5 separate regions of the Homo sapiens genome follow, and regions 1, 2, 3 and 4 are each linked to region 5. The links are contacts of gene promoters, found by promoter capture Hi-C in blood cells and fetal thymus (Javierre and others, 2016). All regions are on one chromosome and are shown on one strand. The core of a region is centred on a gene start or on the middle of the fragment in contact, and the rest is flanking DNA. Distances in the headings are between cores, read along the strand shown. Region 1 overlaps TOP1 (DNA topoisomerase I). Region 2 overlaps TOP1 (DNA topoisomerase I). Region 3 overlaps PLCG1 (phospholipase C gamma 1). Region 4 overlaps TOP1 (DNA topoisomerase I). Region 5 holds the start of ZHX3 (zinc fingers and homeoboxes 3).

Region 1 (4,167 bases), core at 140-2,639, 250 kb before region 5:
CATAAGCAAAACATAGAGGCATTGTAGTATATGCTTTGTTCTGGGAGGAATCTAGTTAGGTGGGTTACACAGGGTGGAATAGTAGAAAATGAGACCCAAAAAAGTGGCTTGAGGCAAAACTATTAAATGCCATTTCAAAAAGTTGGAACTTGTTACTTACACTAACTAAAAATCGGGGGGAAATGTTGGGACTCGATTCTGAGCTGAGCAAGAAGCCACTGGAAATACTTGAGCAAAGTGGATATAAGACTTAGCTACAAATGACATGAAGGGTCTAAGAAAAAGGGTTCCTGTCTTGGATAACTGGGTGGCTGTTCACGCTATTAATAGAGACAAAGAACTTAAGGGAGGAATGGGAGTTAGAATGGGTATCGGTTTTGCCATCTTTGGGCACATCCTTTTATCCTCTCTGGCCTGAAAACAAAGGATTAAATAATTTCTAGGAAATTACATTTACCTTGAAGTTTTGATACTTCTATAATATAAAACGCCGGAGTCCTTGTGATTTTGTTTAGAGATATATAATCGGCATTGTAGTGTGTAATGATGATGGACATTAAGGAACCCTTGTTTCTTAGTGCCTTTTGGAAACTGGCTCATTTCAGAAGCTGCGCTCTTTTCCCAGAGGCAACTTTTGAAGTTACTTAAATATTTAATTTAACAAATATCATTTAAGATTTAACTGTCTACTATCCTTGAAAGGGTCATGAGTTTCCCTCCTAAACCAAGACTTTGAAGCTCTCTGTGCTGTCTCACAGGAATCCCCATGATCCAACTTCATGTGACCTGCAGAGGTCTGCTGCCTTGAGGAGTAGACAGGTAGCTGGGCTGTTAGTGGCTAAGTCCTTTTCTCAGAATATGTGGAGGCTCCTTCTACCTTTAACAGTGCTTTTTTGCTTTGTTTGGGAAGTAACAGAGTAGTCAAGTGCATGACCCTGGAGCCAGACTGCCTGAGTTTAAATCCTGTTTCTCTCTTTAGAGGTAGTTCCTTGGGTGAGTTACTTAACTTGTCTGTGCTTCAGTTTCCACATCTGTGAAATGAAGATACCAGTAGTTACCTGAGTTTTGTTACCGATATCAAATGTGCTTAGATGAGTGCTTGGCACTGGGTGCTACTCAAGTATCTGTTAAATACTTTTATGGGGGATAGAGGACAGATTTAAATGGTTTCCCATAGCCAACATTCTAGCTTTCCAGAATATCAGTATTTTGTTGTGGTAGCGGTGGTCTTTTTTCCTAAAGAAACAGTGCTTCGCCAGAAGGGAGACATTGTTCCCTACTGGCTCCCTACTTCCACCGTTTCTCCCACTCTTCTATATAAGTGCCTTAGAGAAACTCTGGTCACCCTTTTCTGTGGTCTGCTTAGCTCCAACAAGAATCATAGACCAAAGGTTTTGCTGTCATCACTTTAAAAATAGTGTAAGTTATTTTTTTCTTTCCTTTTTTTAAATTTTTTTTTTTTTGAGATGGAGCCTCAGTCTATCGCCAGGCTGGAGTGCAGTGGCGTGATCTCGGCTCACTGCAGCCTCTGTCTCCCTGGTTCAAGTGATTCTCCTGCCTCAGCCTCCCCAGTAGCTGGGATTACAGGCATGTGCCACCACGCCCAGCTAATTTTTGTATTTTTAGTAGAAATGGGGTTTCACTGTGTTGCCCAGGCTGGTCTCGAACTCCTGACCTCAGGTGATCTGCCCGCCTCGGCCTCCTGAAGTGCTAGGATTACAGGCATGAGCCACCACGCCCAGCCAGATTATTTTTTCTTTAGTGGAATTCAGCCAATTGAAGCATAACACATGGCATGAACACTCTGGAAAGGTGGCTTTGGATCTTTCCATTTGTTCTCTTTAGCGCTGACTTTTGCTTTCTAGTCCCTGCTAGTGTGTTGGAATCTTACCCCATACAGATGCAAACTATGAACCAAGAAGTCAGCATCTATGCCTAGCCAATAATTGGTTGTTTTCTCGTTCAGAGTTCCTCATGCCCATGGGGTAAATTCATATTTCATCCATAAGTGTGACCATTGCAGAAGTTCTAGGACTGCTACTGTCTGTATTTTTGTCCTTCAGCATATCCCAGACTAAACTTACTCTTAAAATATGTTTGTCCAACCTTTGGTTTCCTTCCTATGGTTGATATTAAGCCTTTCTTCTACTCTTAGAAGACAAAATGGGGAGACAAAAAAGGCAACCCTGAAGGTTTTTATCCTTTCAGGGTATCTAGCATTTTTCTAATTTAGCCCTACTGAAGTTTCTTCAGTAATTAATCATCTGTTTTTCAGCCTCTAACCTGGCTAATATTATAGCCTACAATTGTACTTTTAAAGCCCTTTTGTGACTTTGACATATTGTGTCTATTGTGTATGGAAAAGTAGCAGGATCAGTATGAAGATAATACAGTATCTCTTAAAACAGGCAGCCAGCAAATGAACTTTCTGCATTGGTCAGAATTTCCATCATTTCACTGTTAATGAGGAAAGTACAGTTCTTTAGCTACCATGAAAGTCAAACATATCCTAAGCCTTTTGGAAAAAGACATACATGTTAGAAAATCTCAAATGGATGAGTCAGCCTGACTGACCCCACATTGACTCCATTTTATATGCTGGCCAAATCCTGTTTCTGACTTTCCTGGCACAGCCCTGGACATGCTTCTGTATCATAGGACTTGTTCCCCAGCGCCTTTGCTACTTCCTTCAGGCACATTCCTAGGAAAGATTGGCAGTGGGGTTTGCTCTTTGCCAGCACTCCTGCCGGTTTGGGGGTTATGGATGCCAGGTTGGGCTCCAGGCACTCTGCTCTCCATTTGTGGAGGCAGGGACGGTAACAGCACCTGACAAGTAGGGATGATCACATTGTATTCAGAAGCCTGGTGGAGCTCTATAAACCCAAATTTCTAACAGTCTCCAATGTAATGCCCTGTAATAGAAGCTGTCCTTAACCCTCAATCATCTGTATTCAGCTAGTATAAAAATGCAAATCTGCTCTTATGCCTAAACAGTTAGGAGTAGAGGAGACTTGGCTTCCTTTGGAAAGTCAGGATGATAGCTTCATCCCATTCTGGTTTTTGTGATTAATTGTGACCTACAAAGGGGTTTACTACTCTAGCAGGAACTTTGAATTTCCTATATACATCTCTTTCTGGTTAGCAGGCAGAGGAAATATCGTTGACTTTTGGCTTCCTGGCAAATGTCTCATTTGCCTTGTCATTTGTTGATTCCTTTTCCCTGATCTCTGTTTGGTGTGATAATGTACAGCAAAGCTGAAAACCGCAGGGCTACATGTACACTTGTAGGTACCTATGTTGTGATTGCCAAAAGGCTCAGAAAGCCAGTTTTCTAGTGAAAATGGCTAACATTCTAAGAAATGCTTTCACTGAGAAAGAGAACGGGTCAGGGGAAGGTGGAACTTAAAGGAAGATGGAGTGTTCCTGAATTCAGATTCCTGAATTAGCCATTTATAGTTTCATGGGAAGACAATGAAAAAAAAAAAAAAGAAAGAAAGAAAAGAAAAGAAAAGAAACAAGCAACCCCAAAGGTTTTTATCCTTTCAGGTATCCAAACATCTTTATTCTAGAAAGTTTCTCCTCGATGGTAAAATAAAGCTAGGACCTTATAGCAAGTCTCAGACTCACCATGGCTGTTTCTTAACACCAGTATACCTTAAGCAGTAGGTATCAATTTAGTGGAAATATAAGGGTATTGATATGTAGTGGAGGCTGCTCTGAACTTGGAGGTGGAAATACTAAGTTTAAATCCCAGCTTTTCTTTTAACATTGCAACTTTGAGAAGTCTTTTAACCATTGTCTCCTGTTTGTATCAGCATGAGGGGATAGATAATAAAACCTGCCTCACAGGAGTGTTGTGAGAATTGAGTGAAATAATGTATGTGAAAATACCAAGTACAATGCTTGCTTAGAAAGTAGAATTTTGTTTTGCCATCCCCTCCCCCACTATAGTTGGCAGGGCAGGGGGAGGCAGTATATTCATCCATCAATATTATAGATGCAATTGTTCCCAGATGTTTTGCTTTTAGGCAAAACCTTGTATAGATGACTGTATACCCTCTTACAGTTGATGCTTAATAAAACAAAACTACCATGGTTTTATAATGGAATGGTAAGCTCAAACATTTTGCTGGTAGTATAAAAACCAAGTGCCTGTGATTACCTATA
Region 2 (4,220 bases), core at 499-2,998, 230 kb before region 5:
CTCCATAGAAACATTGTTATAAGTGGTGGCAGTGTGCTTGGGTTCATACATGAAATCCTGTTTATCCCAGATGTCCTGATTTTTAACTGTTGGCCATTGTAGCTGAACAGGGTTTCAGCACTGTTGGGTTAATTAAGTACACTTTTGTGTCAGGGCTGACCTGGGAATATAAGTTGCCAGTTAATTCTCAACAGATGATTCTTCATAAAGAATTACCTGGCGAGTTTATTGCAGGTGTTAGGTGTGACTTTAAATGGAGTTTTCAATCTCTTAGCAAAGGTAAAATGCTGTGATGAGTCAGGACTATAATGTTTTAAGGAATTAGTGTTGCAAGACCAAGACTCATAAATATATGGTCAATGATAGTGGTAAGAAATTTATGGAATATGGATTATTGACATTTTGCTCAAACCAGAAAAACTTCCCTTAATTTCAAGGATTAGCATTCAGAAGCTACAGCATCTGACCTTTATTTCTAAATTTAAAAAAATTAAATATGAGTTTTATAGCATACTGTGAAGTGCTTGTTAACTGCAAGGGAACTTGATATCAAACAGCACATGGAGTTTACTTTCCTGTCTTTATATTTCTAGCACTTTTCCACCTTTCCCCCTTCAAGCAAATTTTATTATTAAATTGGTACTTGATTATTCAAGTCAAGCTGCCAAAGGGAAGCCATTTCGATGTCTAAGTACATGTTTTTGTTTGTTTATTTGTTTTTAAATTGCGGGGGGCGGATATATGCACTCATGGGGAGGCTAAAAGGACAGAACTGTTTGCTTTTATTTGTATAATAATAGCTGTCAGCCCAGTCACATGAGCTTACTGAAACAGATATTCTGTCTTTCTGTTTAAACTGAAGTTTAGTGTTGTGATTTGCTGAATCTCTTAATTTGCTTAAATGGTAAAGAAGTTGCTGTGGGTCTTCAGGATACACATGTTGAAATAGGAGTCGTAAAAACAGTTTGGAGTCTTGATTTAAAAACACTGTAGGGCCGGGCGTGGTGGCTCACGCCTGTAATCCCAGCACTTTGGAAGGCCGAAGCGGGCAGATCACGAGGTCAGTAGATCGAGACCATCCTGGCTAACATGGTGAAACCCTGTCTCTGCTAAAAATACAAAAACAAAATTAGCTGGGCGTGGTGGCGGGCACCTGTCGTCCCCAGGTACTCAGGAGGCTGAGGCGCGAGAATGGTGTGAACCCTGGAGGTGGAGCTTGCAGTGAGCGGAGATCACGCGACTGCACTCCAGCCTGGGCGACAGAGCGAGACTCTGTCTCAAAAAATAAATAAATAAATAAAAACACTGTAGTCGATGAGAAGAATGGTGCCAAAGTCCCAGGATAAGGGAAAGGGTGGCGTTCGGAATCTCCTCACGGTTACTCTGTGACTGCTGCAGACAGGCTCCTTGCAGATGCTCTCATACACCTACATATATATATATTTTCTCTATTTGGAGAGTAATAGACTGTAGGATTGGGTGGTTTCCTGCATTGAGATCCTTCTATTAATATATCAATGACTCTGCCAATTTCATACCTGAAAAAGTGGTAGGTTAGTTATAGAAGATCTTTAATATTCCTTTGAGGTCTAAGATTCTGTTAAATATTTTTGTTTAAATTGTGTAAAATACATATGACATAACATTTATCATCTTAACCATTTTTAAGTGTACAATTCGGTGGCATTAAGTACATTCATATTGTTGTGCACCATCACCATCTCCAGAACTCTACATCTTGCAAAACTGAAACTCTGTAGTTATTAACAATTCCCCACTTCTCTGTTGCCCCAGTTCTTTTTTTTTTTTTTTTTTTTTTGAGACAGAGTCTCGCTCTGTCGCCCAGGTTGGAGTGCAGTGGTGTGATCTCAGTTCACTGCAACCTTCGCCTCCTGGGTTCAAGCAATTCTCCTGCCTCAGCCTCCCAAGTAGCTGGGATTACAGGCTCCCACCACCATTCCCGGCTAATTTTTTATATTTTTGGTAGAGACGGGGTTTCGCCATGTTGGCCAGGCTGGTCTCAAACTCCAGACCTCAGATGATCTGCCCGCCTTGGCCTCCCAAAGTGCTGGGATTACAGGCGTGAGCCACCGTGCCCAGCCTATTCCCCCAGTTCTTGGTAAGCACCATTCTACTTTCTGTCTCTATGAATTTGACTACTTTAGGTACCTTGTATTAATAGTCATACAGTATTTGTCCTTTGTGACTGACTCATTTCACTTAACAGAATGTCAACGCTCGTCCATATTGTAGCATGTTTCAGAATTTTCTGACTTTTAAAGGCTAAATAATATTCCATTGTTTGTCCTGCATTTTGTTTATTCATTCATCTTTTGATGGACATGGGTTATTTCTGCCTTTGGCTGTTGCAGATAGTGCTGCTGTGAAACATTCGTGTACAAGTATTTGTTTGAATATTGAGTATATTCCTGGGAATGGAATTGCTGGGTCATGTGGCATTTCTGTGCTTAACTTTTTGAGGAACTGCCATACTATCTTTTCCACATTGGCTGCACCTTTTTACGTTCCTACCAGGACCACACGAGGGTGCTAGCTTCCCTACACCTTCACCAACACTTGTTATTTTTTGTTTTATTGCCATCCTTATGAGTATGAATGGTATCTCATTGTGGTTTTGATTGGTATTTTCCTAATGATTATTGATGTTGCATATTTTTGCAGGTGCTTATTGGCCACTTGTATATCTTCTTTAGAAAAATGACCATTCAAGTTCTTTGCCCCACCCCCACGTGTTTTTTTTTGTTTTTGAGATGGAGTCTTGCTCTGTCGCCCAGGCTGGAGTGCAGTGGCGCAATCTTGGCTCACTGCAACATCTGCCTCCCAGGTTCAAGTGATTCTCATGCCTCAGCCTCCTGAGTAGCTGAGATTACAGGCGTGCACCACCACGCCTGGCTAATTTTTTGAATTTTTAATAGATACAGAGTTTTGCCATGTTGGCCAGGCTGGTCTCGAACTCCTGACCTCAAGTGATCCCTCCGCCCGCTTTGGCCTCCCAAAGTATTGGGATTACAGGCGTGAGCCACTGCGCCCAGCCCCTATTTTTAATTTTATCTTTTTTTTCCCCTCCACCTTAAGACTGAGACTTTGCCCATTTTTTTAATTGGGTTGTTTATTGAGATGTAGGAGCTGTTTATATATTTTGTATGTTAACCCTTTATCAGATACATGATTTACAAATATTTTCTCCTATTCTGTGAGTTGTCTTTCACTCTCTTGAAGTGTCCTTTGATGCACAGAAGTTTTTAAGTTCAGTGAAGTTCAGTTTATTTATTTATTGAGACAGAGTGTCTCTCTGTTGCCCAGGCTGGAGTGCAGTCACGTGATCTCGGCTCACTGCAACCTTCACCTCCCAGGTTCAAACGATTCTTGTGTCTCAGTCTCCTGAGTAGCTGGGATTACAGGCGTATGCCCCCATGCCTGGATAATTTTTGTATTTTTAGTAGAGACGGGGGGGTCTCGCCATGTTGGCCAGGCTGGTCTCGAACTCTTGTCCTCAAGTGATCCGCCCACCCCAGCCTCCCAAAGTGCGGAGATTACAGGTGTGAGGTACTCTGCCCAGCTGCAATTCATTTATTCTTTTTGTTACCTGTGTTTTACGTGTCATATCCAATAAATCACTGTCAAATCCAATATTGTGAAGCTTTTCCCCTATGTTGTCTTCTAAGAGTTTTATATTTTTGCTCTTATATTTAGGTCTTTGATCCATTTTGAATTAATTTTTGTGTATAATGTAAAGACCCAGTTTGATTATTTTGCCAACACTATTGTTGAAAAAACTGTTCTTTCTCCATTGAATGGTCTTAAGCATCTTGTTGTAAATCATTTGACCATATATGTTGACTTTGGTTTTATAGTAATACCATTGTTACAATATGGTTTGATACATGTAATTTTTATTTGATGTTTCTGAACTTTGTTTAAAATATTGGACTTGTTCCATGGCTGAATGATTGATAATAAAATAATAAATAAAATATTGTACTTGGAAAGTAAATATGAGGGTAGTAAGTTAGTTATCTATTCGAGTAAAAGAAACTTGAGGCATAGCCAGTTGCAATTTGTGAGCCTGAGTTGGATCCTGGTCTATAAAATAAATTTAGATAAAATAGGGAAGTTTTTAATATGGACTGGGAATTAGAATTATACTAGGAGATTATTTTGTTAGATGTGATAATAGTTTTGTGGTTATGTGGAAGAAT
Region 3 (4,350 bases), core at 139-2,638, 170 kb before region 5:
TACCTGTTTGAATGGTGATGCTCTTAGCTGACCCAGGGGGTATGGCAAGAGGCCTTGGTTCTGGTGAGAGAGAGAAGACAGTGTTTGGTTTTGAGGAGTTGTCTTTGAGACGTTTTGAGATGAAGAGTGGGGATAGCAAGTAGGCAGCTGAATTGAAGGATCTGAAGCTTAAGAGGAGAGGACTAGGCTAGAGACCTGTTTGTGAATTATCTGTACATAGGAGGTAATTAAGGGTGTGGGCATGGCTGACACTGATGAGGAAGAAGGCAGAGCACCGGAAGAGAGGACCTTGACCTGAGCCTTGACCAAGGCCATTGCTAAATGCAGGTAGGCCTGTAGCGCACAAAGAAGCATGAAAACCAGGCAAGGTTGTGCAGGAGAAATCAAGGGCAGAGCTTCAAGGAGAGAGGGCGTGATCAACCATGTTGATTGCTCTGAGGTGTCAGGAAGGAGGACCATAGATAAGTGATTTATGGGTCAGGCACGGTGATTCATGCCTGTAATCCCAGCTCTTTGGGAGGCCAAGACTGGCGAGTCATTTGAGCCCAGGAGTTCAAGAACAGCCTGGGCAACATGGCAAAACACCATCTCTGCAAAAAATATAATCAGCCTGGCGTTGTGGTTTGCCTGTAGTCCCAGCTACCTGAAAGGCCAAGGTGGGAGGATCACCTGCACCTGGGGAGGTAGAGGCTACAGTGAGCCCTGTTGGTGCCACTGCACTCCAGCCTGGACAACAGAGTGACTTATGGGCCAGGCATGGTGGCTCACACCTGTAATCCCAGCACTTTGGGAGGCCGAAGTGAGAGGATCACTTGAGGCCAGGAGTTTGAGACAAGCTTGGGCAACATAGTGAGACCCCATCTCTATAAAATATAAAGAAAAATTTTAAAAGTGACTTATACCCATTGCTCTGGTTCTCCAAGTAGCCTGAGTGTACTATGTGGGGGAGCATTTTATGAGGGACTTTTGAGGTCCTGGGCATCCCTGAGACATGGCCCTGGTGGGTCCCCAGTCTCTCTCCTGTAGCTAGGAGCCTGGCATACACAGGCCATCTAGAAAGAACTTAGGCAGCATCAGTCTGCAAGGGAGGCAGAGTTTGGAGCACACTAGACTCCTGACACAGAGGCTGACCCATGGCTGCCTGGAGAATCTTCTGGGCTTGTGCAGAAAAGTTGGGGAAAGCCACCTTTCCCTACTGTGGCAGTCAAGGCTTGGTATAGGCCATCTTCCCTCCCTTCTCATCCATGATACTCTGAATGCCCTGTTTGTGGAACTTAGTGGACTCCTGCACCTCTGTCTTGGTTTCCATGAACCCCTCTGCCCAATGTGTGCTTGTCAGCCCTCCAGACCTGGCTTTTACAGAGCACTCCAAGACATTGCTCTACACACACTCAGCTCCACAGACACCTCCCTGTTGTTCTACTCGTTGCATGACCTCATAGTTATCTGCTTCCCCATCTGTTTCCTCCATCAGGCAGGGGTTTTCTCAAAGGCAGGAACTCAAATGCCTTATTGATCTCTGTTTCCCTAGGACCCAGCCCAGGGCCTGACATGGAGTAGATAGATGCCCGATAAATGTTTGATCAGATGATGGAATGAATGACTGCATAAGCCGAATAGATCACTGCTGAGTGCTCTTCCAGCTTTAATTTCTCTGGGTGGGACCTCCTTTCCCTTCCTTCCTTTGGATTCTGTTCTTACCTCTGAAATAGGTGAGATTAATTTAGAGTCCTAGGGAAGAGGGCTGCCTGCCTGGATGGTACAAAGGCTGGCTGTGGCTGCTCTGTGTTTCTCTGTATACCCAGTGTCAGGGATAGCAGCTGCTGTGGGGACACTGCAGAGTGTCCCAGTTCTGCCATGACTCACCATATGACCATGACAAGACCCTTTGGACCCTCTGTTTCCTCATTGTTTCAAAGAGATTTGTCTAGAATCTAGACCAAGCTTGTCCAACTCGCTGCCCGCGGGTCTGGTTTGAAGGCAGCTGCTGCACAGTAATGGGAAGGACAGTAAGCCCCACCATCGCCTTCCCTTTGCCATATAACCCTGTGACCTCAGAAGTCCCTGAACCCAGATCCTTGTTTGTAAAATGGAAAGGGATAGCTACCCACCCCTCCACTTTGACCTTCCTTTGGTGGCAGCCAGATGTGCTCAGGGAAACCTCAGATTTGTGAGTATGTTTCTACTGAGAGGCAGGAGGAGGAATATTATAGTCTCAGGAAGAGGGAGGAATGAGAGGGAGAGGAGAACTCTCACCCTTTCCACAGGCTTTGGGCATATGCAGCCAGCTTGGAAATGCTGACCATCCTGTGACCTGGCTACTATTGCATCAGGCTTCCTTCCCACCTGTGTCCAGGTCCTATCTTTGTCTCTTCTTTGGCTACCTCCATCCTTTTCCTTCAGAGCTGCAAAAACCTTGCCAAAGCCGTATGGTCCTGATGGGTGCAGAGCCCCTGTGCCTCTGGCTGCCTGTGAAGGGGGATCTGCAGTGCAGTGCCTGCCGTACCCCACAGGGAGTTGTATAGGAACCTGGGGATGGGGTGACTGAGGTAGGGGGCCAGAAGTGGCCCAGATGATACTCACTTCTGCTGGAACTTTTCTTTGTCCATCTTTCAGCATCCTCTGGTGGAGAAGGCTTAGCTCCATTAATGCTCTCCTAGGTCCTGGCTGTGTATTTTCTTTGGTATGGGAGTGGGGAACTGGGAGGGACTCATCTGTTTGCCACAGACTACATGTGGAGAGGGTGATTGGTGAGAGGTCATTTTGGAGATCTACACACCTCTTCTGACCCCTGGGACCACTCTCCTGAATCTCCTCATGGTCTTGGCTTCGGGCCCAGCAGGGCGTGGGTGCTCGGCATCCTGCTGCTTTTACTGTTTTTCCCAAAGCTCTGTTAGCTTCCCGTGGTTCCCACTGGCTATAGGAATCTTTATGTAAGGACTTCCCAGTGTTTCCAGACTGTATTTGCCCCCAGGGGTCACATTCCCCCCAACTATGCCTGCTGCTGCTTTTTCTGTTCCCGTTGTTACCTCACTGACCACTGCATTTTCAGTATTTGTTGTAGCCCCTCAGCCTCTGTGGCCCACTGTGCCACCTCTTCCAGGAAGCCATCCTTGATACCATCTTTCTGGTACCATTTTTGAGCATCTGTGGCCTTTGCTGCCTGTTAGATAATTAGCTCTGGAATCTAACTCCCATGTGTTTACTCCTGCTCTTAAGTACTCTGAACATTTTGAGGCCTCCCCAGGCCCTGGGTTTGTGTTGGACTGGTAGGGAATGGAGAGAAGAGTCAAATGTGGTTTCTTCCTTGGAGGAGCTCATAGGCCAGTGGCCTAAGACACCAGGGAAGCACCAGCAGGTGTGACAAGTGGTGACACACAAGAGAGGAGGGGGCACCTAGTGTGCCCCTGGCCTGGGCCTGGTGGGGGCTTAAGTGAGGAGGTAGGAGTGGCTTGTGCAAAGGCTGAGGCAGGAAGGAGTATGGGGAGACATGGGCTGGTGTCTGTGTTGTGTTAATTGGACTTGGACCCTTTTGAGGAGGGCTGGGCTTTCCCTGCCTTCCTCCAGTGCCCTCTGCAGAGTGGGGCACACAGGCCTTGAGGGGTTCTGGGGTCCACAGGCCACAGGTGGGGGTAGTAAAAACCCCCAGAAGGGAAGGAACCTGTCCAGGAAATCTTCGCTTACCTCTTTCAAGCTCTTTAGATTTTAAAGAGACCTTTCATATTTACTATGAGTTGCAGTTTTTTTAAGTTACAAAATTTCTTTACTCCATGCATGTTTAAATGGATAGTTTTTGCTACCATTTACATCAATTAGCTTACACACTTTGGGTTTTGTGTTTTTGTTTTGTGTTTTTAGAGAAAGGATCTCGCTTTGTTGGCCAGGCTGGAGTACAGTACTGTGATCATAGCTCATAGAGCTTCCTACTCATCTGCAGCCTCAAACCCTTGGGCTCAAGTGATCTTTCCCACCGCCTCCCAAGTAGCTGGGACTACAGGCATGTGCTACCATGTCTAGCTAAGTTTTTTTAATTTTTATTTTTTGCAGAGGTGGGGTCTTCCTCTGTTACCCAGATGGGTCTTGAACTCCTGGCCTCAAGCAGTCCTCTTGCCTCAGCCTTCTAAAGTGAGCGTATGCACTTTATAAAGGGAAAACCCTCTCTGAAGAGAAATATTTCAGACAGGGCATGGTTGCTCATGCTTCTAATCCCAGCACTTTGGGAGGCCGAGGCAGGCGAATCACTGGAGGTCAGGAGTTTGAGAGCAGCTGGCCAACATGGTGAAACCCCGTCTCTACTAAAAATACAAAAATCAGCTGGGCATGGTGGTGTGCATCTGTAATCCCAGCTAC
Region 4 (4,671 bases), core at 155-2,654, 200 kb before region 5:
ACTAGCTTTTTGAGTTTGATTGCCCAGAGTAGCAGCACTCCCTCATTTGCTGCCTTATTTAATTTTTTTTTTCCTTTTCTCCATCCCTATTTCAGAGGACAGAATAGAAAGAAAAGGAGCATGAATATTTAACATCCCTATAGATTTCATAGTGAGTGGGGGAGGAAGTAACACTGCAGAATCCAGAGTTCCCAGGCCATGCTGACTGATGCTGTGGCTTCAAACAGAATTGGGAGGCTTCTGTTTTGGATGCCTAGAAATTGCATAAGGGTCAAAAGGCTGGGCGCAGTGGCTCACGCCTGTAATCCCAGCACTTTGGGAGGCCAAGGCAGGTGGAACACGAGGTCAAGAGACCATCCTGGCCAATGTGGTGAAACCCCATCTCTACTAAAAATACAAAAAAAAAAAAAAAAATAAAAATTGGCGTGGTGGCGGGCGCCTGTAGTCCCAGCTACTTCGGAGGCTGAGGCAGGAGAATGGCATGAACCCGGGAGACGGAGCTTGCAGTGAGCCAAAATTGCGCCATTGCACTCTAGCCTGGCGACAGAGCGAGACTGTCTCAAAAAAAAAAAAAAAAAAAACACAGAACGAAATTGTGTAAGGATCATGTCTCTTCCATTCATGCTCATCTTTTCTTTCTTTCCTGGGCAGCTTGCTCTGAGAGCAGGCAATGAAAAGGAGGAAGGAGAAACAGCGGACACTGTGGGCTGCTGCTCACTTCGTGTGGAGCACATCAATCTACACCCAGAGTTGGATGGTCAGGAATATGTGGTAGAGTTTGACTTCCTCGGGAAGGACTCCATCAGATACTATAACAAGGTCCCTGTTGAGAAACGAGTAAGTTAATGTACCTGTACTGTCTGACTTGTTTTCCATTATTCAACAAGCATGGGTTGACTGCTTTTTTGTGTGCTTTGCACTTTGCTGGGCACCAGCAAAAGTGACTTGAGACAGGCAACATGGCACATGCCTGTAGACCCAGCTATTCAGAAGGCTGAGACAGGAGGATCACTGGAGACCAAAAGTTTGAGGCTGTAGTGTGCTGTGATCACACCTGTGAATAGCCACTGTACTCCAGCCTGGGCAAAATAGTGAGACCTTGCCTCTCATATTAAAATAAATAAAAATAAATGACTTGAAAGAGGGGAGAGGTATTATTTGATATCTTGTGTACCTCCTTTTAGTCACTGTTCCGCCCTGTGCTACCTTCCTGGTAAGGAGTGGCCTTCTCCTATAGCAGTATTCAATGGAGCATGCTGTAGAATAGGCCCTTAGAGCAAACTCAGCATATGATTTAACTATATCTTAGTATCCCCTGGTCATGTGGTACATTTGTCACTTTTCATCTTTGCTCAGCCTTTCTCCAACTCCTGACTGAGTGAAAGGTTAATGTTAGTCCCCAGATCTCTGAGCCCATCACTGAAGAGGGTACTATAGCTCTGTAGTCCCAACCTAATCTTTTCCATAGTATTGGGCTTGAACCAGAGACTTACAGTGTGCAGGATCCTAATAATCCAGCCCACCAGCAGTCCTCTTCTTATAAAGACACCTCTTCTCATAAGGACACCATAATCAGTAATCAGGTTTTGCTGGCTGTGGAAGTACTCTGGACAGATTAGATAACAGTATGTATCAATGTAAATTTTTGAAGCTGATACTGTGTAAATGTAAGGGAATATCTATTTTTAGAACATACACACTGAAATGTTTAGGACCATATTATAAGTAAGTACTTATAAATGTACTTTAGGACCATATTATAAGTAAGTACTTATAAATGTACTTTAGGACCATATTATAAGTAAGTGCTTATAAATGGCTCAGAACAAACAATTATGTATATATATCTGTAAATATACACATGGAGAGAGTGAGCATACATGCACACTGTGCAAATGATGAATGGGGTAAAATGTTAACAGTGAATCTCGGTGACGGATGTATGCGTGTTCCTTGTGCCTTTTTCTTTGCAAGTTTCTTTAAGTTTGGGGTTATTTCTAAAGTTAGGATTTTTTTCAAGAGTAATAATTAGGATTCACTTATATCTTTTAGGTTTTTAAGAACCTACAACTATTTATGGAGAACAAGCAGCCCGAGGATGATCTTTTTGATAGACTCAATGTGAGTAGATGAAGCACACAATGTTGAAGGGAGTCCCAGCCAGAGCCTCACAGTACCTAAAGGGGAGGGTTGCTGGCAGATGACTTGGGCTCTCCCTTTAGCCTGGCCTGCTCTGTGGCATCCCATACACTCTCTCTTCCTCCCTCTGAGTCCACGGTGAATCTGTAGTCAAGAGAAGACACATCTGCTGCAGAACAACTGCTAAAGCACTCAGGGTGGGGGGTAGATGAGCCCTACCTTTTATCCTTCCCTGCTCCTGCAGAGCTTTCCCTTCACTGAATGCCCAGCCACCCCTGCTGGAGACCCAAAACCTGTCCCTGATATCTTAATAGGGAAGGAAAAATTTGCTTTATTGGTTTGTTAAGCCCACCAACCTGGGCCAGGCTTGGTGGCTTACGCCTGTTATCCCAGCACTTTGAGAGGTCAAGTAGGGCAGATCCCTTGAGGTCAGGAGTTTGAGACCAGCCTGGGCAACATGGCAAAACCATTATCCAGGTGTGGTAGTCCACACCTGTAGTCCCAGCTGCTTAGGAGCCTCAGAAGGATTGCATGAGCCCGGGAGGTGGAGGCAGCAGTGAACCGAGATTGTACCACTGCACTCCAGGCTGGGTGTCAGAGTGAGACCCTGTCATACACACACACAAAGATTGAAATACTTCATAGAGAGGCATCATGTAACCCTGTATTCTGGAATTCTTTTCCTCTTTCCCTAACTTCCCACTTGTAGGGCAATAAACTTGACAAGATTGTGACTGCACTGGCATAAATTACTCCTAGGGCTGCCAGAAGGAGCAGGTAGTATAGCTTTGACCTAAATCTGTTGCTTTGTCTCCTCCAGACTGGTATTCTGAATAAGCATCTTCAGGATCTCATGGAGGGCTTGACAGCCAAGGTATTCCGTACATACAATGCCTCCATCACGCTACAGCAGCAGCTAAAAGAACTGACAGCCCGTAAGTATTGCTTGGCCAGATAGGGCCCACACCCCTACTAATGGTATCCGGTGACCTTGCTTATCTAAGGCCTAGAGTCAGTTCTACTTTTTTTCCCTACCATTGTGGTCAGACACTTTTTCCCTTTAGACCTCTAGTAGCGAGATAATGCTTTGTTGTATAAACATAGGATCAATGCTGTTTCCCCCTTCCCACCCCAACTTCAAGATTAATTTCATGGAATGCTGACAGCTTTTCACCTGCTACAAAAATGCCTGCATTTGTGTTTTATACATATATTACTTAAAAGCCCACAGAGTGAAGACAGTGCTGTGATGTTCTGTTAAATTGGAGAGAGTAAAGTTGTCATGGTTACCAGAAAAATACAGGAACAAGTCCTTTCCTTGAGGTTTCTGTCATTTTTTTCCCATAAGAGAGTAGATACTTTCTATAGCTGATTTTTAGAATATTATCACCAAGATCCACGGGCTTTTTTTTTCCTGGAGCCCAGTCACTATTGAATTTCCACTGCCCTCTGTAAATACATCAGATGGCCTTAGAATATGAACCAGAAAAGCCAGAGGTAGGTATGTTGAGGGTCAGTATTTTAAGGTGGTATAAAGAATGCCACACTATACAAATAAAAACAATTTTTTTGGATGGCATTTTTAATTTTTCTTTTTAAATAAGATACTACCAGGCCATGTGCAGTGGCTCACACCTGTAATCCCAACACTTGGGTAGCCGAGGCAGGAGAATCACTTGAACCCAGGAGTTCCAGACCAGCCTGGGCAATGTAGTGAGACCTTGTCTCTACTAAAATTTCTAAAAATTAGGCAGGTGTGGCGGTGTGCACCTGTCATCCCAGCTACCTGGGAGGCTGAGCCCAGGAGTTTAGGGCTGTAATGAGCTACGACCATACCACCGCACTCCAGCTTGGGTGACAGGGTGAGACGCTATCTCTAAAATAATAATAATAACCATAATAATACTACCAACTGTGGCTTAATTTTTTTTTTTTTTTTTTTTTTTTTGAGACGGAGTCTTGCTGTCACCCAGGTTGGAGTGCAGTGGCGCGATCTCGGCTCACTGCAAGCTCCGCCTCCTGGGGTTCACGCCATTCTCCTGCCTCAGCCTCCCGAGTAGCTGGGACTACAGGTGCCCGCCATGTCGCCCGGCTAATTTTTTGTATTTTTAGTAGAGACAGGGTTCACCGTGTTAGCCAGGATGGTCTCGATCTCCTGACCTTGTGATCCGCCCGCCTCGGCCTCCCAAAGTGCTGGGATTACAGGTGTGAGCCACCGCGCCCGGCCAAAATTTTTAAACTTTTAACGTCCCTTCAATTCCTCGTTCTGTTCTGGCTACATTGGGTGGAGAGGTGGGGAGGTAGGAAGTGGCCAGTATAGAACTTATGAATATGGGCAACAAACCATAGTAATATCAGCAGCACCTATGATGAGCATATGGGTGGGGAGGAAGCAAGGAGATGAAGGGTCCCTAGCCAAGTTCCCTGAGTAAAAAGAAAGGTGTAGATTTTATTATATTACCTAGACTCAGAGTTCCTCTTGTGATAGGAATTTACCCAGGCCAAGCTTACATATAAACTTCCTACTATCAT
Region 5 (4,491 bases), core at 1,718-4,217:
TTTTAACTCATGACACAGCTACCTAGAAGCCTAGAAGGCTACCAGCAAGGTCATATGAATAGATGGATAATGAGCATTCATTCTTTCCTTCATTCATTCAACAAATATTAAGTACCCACAATGGGCCAGGTGCAGTTTCTGAGCCCTGAGGATATATCGGTGAAAAAAAAGTCTCACACTTCAGGGTTAATGAGGGAGAGAGACAATACACCAACAAATAAATATGTATTACCAAGTGGTGGTAAGCAAGGCAGGATAAGAACAACAGGGAAATGGGGTGTATTTGATAATGCAGTCAAGCAAAGCCAGACAACCTAACTTTTGAGCAGAGACCTGAAGTAAGGGAGTCAACTATGTTAATATCCAGGGACCAGAGTTCTAGGCGGAGGGAACAGCAAATGCAAAGGCACTGAGGCTGGAGTATGCTTGACTTTTTTGAGACAGAGTCTCGCTCTGTCTCCCAGGCTGGAGTGCGGTGGTGTGATCTTGGCTCAATGCAACCTCCGCATCCCGGGTTCAAGCAATTCTCCTGCCTCAGCCTCCTGAGTAGCTGGGATTACAGGCACGCACCACCAGGCCTGGCTTTTTTTTTTTTTTTTTTTTTTTTTTTTAGTAGAGACGGGGTGTCACCATGCTGGCCGGGCTGGTCTCGAACTCCTGACCTCGTGATCCGCCCGCCTCGGCCTCCCAAAGTGCTGTGATTACAAGTGTAAGCTTGATGTTTTTAAGAAACAGCAAAGAGATCTGTCTGGCAAGGCTCGAAGTGAGGATGGTTGTTCGGAAGAGGGTTAGCCTGGCAGGCCACAGCAAGGCCTTCAGAGTTTACTTTAAGACAAAAAGCTATTGGAGGGCTCTAAGCAGAGGACTAACATGATCTGAATTTTTTAAAGGATTGCAAAGAGAAACACAAGTTCCTACTCATAAAACAAAGATGTATCTCTCATAATCTAGTTATAAGTCAAAGAAAAAAAGCATAGAATAAAAGTTGTGTAGTATGATAGCATTTTTGTAAGAAAAAACACGTATACATGGGAACAAGGCTAAAAGGCTTAATACCAAATTGTGATTTACTATGGTTTGTGGGATTATGGGGTTTTTTTTGTTTTGTTTTGTTTGCAATGCTTTTCTTTGTTTTTCAAGTTTTCTGCCTTAAACATGAATTACTTTGGTAATTTTTAATGTTATCTTTAAAAAGAAAAAAGCACTCCACCATGAGACTTCCCTTGTCTGAAATCTTACTTCAATATGAAAAAAAAAAAAACAAACTCAAAACCAAAAACCAAAACAACATGGGGAACATTTTTTTCCAAAAATTACCACACTTCCCATGCAATGTTTGCCTGTCATGAACCACTGCACAAATCAAGCCCCGCTCAATGTATCAAGGTCACAAAACCAACTTGGTTAATATGTTGATCATTACATAGTGGCTCTGTCCTCTACAGCAACTTTGATACCATCTTTCCAAGGCAGCAACAGAAGGGCCCTTTTCATTCATTTTCTATGTGTCTTTGATACTATTTTGCGCTTCTGGATTTTTCCACTGTATGTCTCTTAGAAACAAATTAAGCTCGAATAAGTTGTTCCAGCTAATGAAGTGCGCTTTTGGCTCCTTCTCCGTGGTTCAGAATTATCCGGCAAAATACCAATTGTTTTAGGATGCATTTTCTCTTAGTTTTGAAATATTGCAATACTAAGTTACCACAAATAAAGAGCATTGAGATAACAACACACAAGAACGTGTATAAATGGAAACTACTGTAATCCTTTTTTAAATTAAGGACGTGTGGACGCCTCATGAATAAACATTTAGGATATCTGGATAAATATATACTATGTGTTCACATAGATAAAAACAGAAAGGAGCATTCCTTCCTACCTCACTCCCCCACCCCAAGTCACATAAGTTTCTCGCAGGGCACAAGCCCAGGGCAATCACTGCTCAGAAATGTAAACCATGCAACTCAAAATGACTCAAGCCCTCAAACACTCCCCACCTAAGTCCTACATCCCATCCACTCCTCAATCACTTCCAACAGGCTTCCCTGAATGAAAATCCCAAACTGGGAAGGCTTAACAAGCTCCAAACTCCACTCACACGCCACTCAGGGAATCCGAGGACCTGGGGCCCACGTGTAGTGTTTTCGCGTGGGCAGACAAGGGTCCCAAGATTCAGGGTGCTACTGTACCCCGAGTGGTTCGAGTCCTGGCTCTGCCGCCTTCACTGGTCGAGCTGACGCTCTTTACACCGGGGGCATGGGCTGCCACATCCCAGCAGAGTGCAAGGGCCCTCGGGCGTGGACGCAGGCGGCTCTCGGGTGCACACGCGGAACGCACACTCGGGCATGCACTCTCACACGGTCAGGCGGGCCTGCGCGAACGCCCCCGCTTCCCCTCTACCACCCCCTTTTGCGCCTTCTACGATGGTGGCACGCGGGGCTACCCTGACCCCTAGGACCCCTGGACGCCCGCTCCTGGAGCCCGGGGGGTGATGACAGATGGCGGAGGGCGGGGCTCCGGGGGGAAGGGGCGGAGCCTCTCAGCATGGGGGTGCTGGCGGCTGACAGAAAGACCAGGGGCAGCCGGCGGGAGGGGGCTGACTGAGACTGCGGGCCGGCCGCGGGCCAGGCGTGGCGGGAAGGAGCTCGCGCAGACACAGGGTCTGACAGGCAGAGAGAGATACAGACACCGGGGACTGACAGCCGCGGGGGCACGCGGGGCCGGCTGGCCGTGGCGGGCGCTCACCTGGCAGCGGCGGCGGTGGCGGCGCCCGCGACCGGGCCGCTCTTCCCGCGCTGCGGGCCTCCCTCCCCGCGGCCGGGCGGGCGGCCGGCGCAGGCCCCGCAGAGGCGGCGGCGGCGGCGACGCCGGAGCCGCGGACTGCTGAGCGGCGGGGACGCAGCTGCACCAACCGACTCCGGGCCGCTCGGCTGGGCTCGGCCGCTCTCGGAGGCGCTCGGCTCTGCTCGGCCTTGCACGGCTCCCCTCGGCCTTGCTCGACTCGGCTGGGGGCGTGGCCCAGGCCCCCCAGTCCGCCCAGGTCGCCTCTGGCGGCCGCGGGGCGGGGCTTTCGAGCGGGTGCGAGCCCCCTGACGTCGCGGGGAGCGGACCTTGCCCCCGGCGCATGCGCCAGCACTCCTCCTCCCCCCTCCTCCCCGCCCCACCGTGTGGAGGCTGAAGAAGACGGGGAAGGAGGCGCTGGGGGCGGATGCTGCGGTCCCAGAGGTTCCTGGCTTTTGTACTCCATATCCTGCTCTTTCCAGAGGACCACTTAAAGAAGGTCACACCAGGTTACACTTTCAAAAGGATGTGTGTGTAGGCTGGCAGGGGCTCTCGCTCCTGTCTGCCCCCACTCCTCCAATTCCAGTGTTTCCCAACAAGCGTCGACTAGGAGTGGTCTTTTATCCAACCAAGGGTTCACTGCAATTTTTAATATTTTCTGTTTTCTTAAGAATAATAACAAAAAAACTAACTCTTGATCACTGTTTTAACATTGAGTCTTCAAGTACTTGAACTTTCAAACATCAGTCAGCCTCCTCGAGTCCACTAATACCGTCCTTTCTTCATAGCTGTTGTATAACCTGTAATGCCTGGGATGGGGTTGGGTTCTTTCCTGAATTCTCGTCACATGATCCAGGCACCTTTTTAGTTATGGAACCAAGTCTGCAGCAAATATGCTCAGAAAGTGGCTCCCACCTTTAGAATCCAGTGATTAGTAAACAGCAGGAGCTCTACGGTCTTGACACACCTGGATGGGAATCCCAGATCTGCATTAATCTAGCAGGTTAATAATTGTCTGAGTGACTTTGGACGTGTTAATCTCTCAACTGTAAAAGGGCAATGAAACATGAGTAAATCAGTAGAAATATTAAAAGGGTTAAATGACACCACATATAAAGATTTCTGCACAGTGCTTGGTGTTCAATAAGTAAGGCTGCCTTTAACTTCAAGTAACTTTAGAACCTTCAGATCCTGAAAACCAGGGAGCATATACACAAGTGTGAGCGATGTGTCCAAGTAAACAAGTCGATAGTCAAACACCCATACGTGGCACCTTAGCTTGCTCCTTTCACAACCTTCCCTACCTCAGTTCATGTCAACTCCATTCTTCTGATGACTCCAGACAAACCATTGGAGTCATCCTGGACTCCACTCTCCCTATCATATCCCACATGCAACCCATTAGAAAAGCCTGTCAGCTCTACCTTTAAAATACCCCTTTTCCTCTTTCCTGGAATATTGTAGTAGCCTCCTGCCTGTTCTCCACGATTCCACTGTGCTCTCATGGTGCCTTCTCTCAACACAGAAGCCAGAGGGATCCTGTTGAAACCTAAGCTCAAAAGCCCCCAGAAGGTTTCCCATCTCAGAGTAAAAGCCAAAAAAAAAAAAATATGGGGGCAGTGGGGTGGAGAGTGGGACACAGTCTCACTCTGTCTCCCAGGTTAGAGTGCAGTGGCCCCATCACAGCTCACTGCAGCCTCAACCTCCCAA

Evidence for each region. Contacts are between HindIII fragments. The CHiCAGO score rates a contact against its expected background, and 5 or more counts as called.
Region 1: a contact is called between a fragment that was not itself captured here and the fragment with the promoter of ZHX3 in region 5, in 6 of 17 cell types (non-activated CD4 T cells, activated CD4 T cells, naive CD4 T cells and 3 more). The highest score is 11.8, in non-activated CD4 T cells.
Region 2: a fragment that was not itself captured here is called in contact with the fragment with the promoter of ZHX3 in region 5 in 9 of 17 cell types (total CD8 T cells, non-activated CD4 T cells, activated CD4 T cells and 6 more); the score reaches 12.6 in total CD8 T cells.
Region 3: a fragment that was not itself captured here is called in contact with the fragment with the promoter of ZHX3 in region 5 in 12 of 17 cell types (naive CD8 T cells, non-activated CD4 T cells, total B cells and 9 more); the score reaches 23.4 in naive CD8 T cells.
Region 4: a fragment that was not itself captured here is called in contact with the fragment with the promoter of ZHX3 in region 5 in 9 of 17 cell types (activated CD4 T cells, total CD8 T cells, total CD4 T cells and 6 more); the score reaches 14.6 in activated CD4 T cells.

The regions. Positions count from the first base shown.
Region 1 is chr20:41,069,901-41,074,067 of GRCh38, forward strand. The region is part of intron 3 of TOP1 (DNA topoisomerase I); the gene reads left to right. Among named protein-coding and RNA genes, the nearest start is that of TOP1, 43 kb to the left of the region's middle. The HindIII fragment of the contact is 5,680 bases long and covers 1-4,167 here.
Region 2 is chr20:41,087,224-41,091,443 of GRCh38, forward strand. The region is part of intron 8 of TOP1 (DNA topoisomerase I); the gene reads left to right. Among named protein-coding and RNA genes, the nearest start is that of PLCG1, 48 kb to the right of the region's middle. The HindIII fragment of the contact is 3,822 bases long and covers 1-3,659 here.
Region 3 is chr20:41,149,437-41,153,786 of GRCh38, forward strand. The region is part of intron 1 of PLCG1 (phospholipase C gamma 1); the gene reads left to right. Among named protein-coding and RNA genes, the nearest start is that of PLCG1-AS1, 14 kb to the left of the region's middle. The HindIII fragment of the contact is 1,108 bases long and covers 835-1,942 here.
Region 4 is chr20:41,113,319-41,117,989 of GRCh38, forward strand. TOP1 (DNA topoisomerase I) reads left to right here. Exons shown (of 21, transcript NM_003286.4): 15 at 652-837; 16 at 2,053-2,121; 17 at 2,960-3,074. All of the region lies in intron 4 of PLCG1-AS1 (PLCG1 antisense RNA 1), which reads right to left. Among named protein-coding and RNA genes, the nearest start is that of PLCG1, 22 kb to the right of the region's middle. The HindIII fragment of the contact is 6,477 bases long and covers 1-4,643 here.
Region 5 is chr20:41,314,764-41,319,254 of GRCh38, forward strand. It overlaps ZHX3 (zinc fingers and homeoboxes 3), which reads right to left and starts at 2,968. Exons shown (of 4, transcript NM_001384317.1): 1 at 2,746-2,968. RefSeq lists silencers at 2,488-2,777, 2,788-3,237 and an enhancer at 3,348-3,397. The HindIII fragment of the contact is 7,702 bases long and covers 713-4,491 here.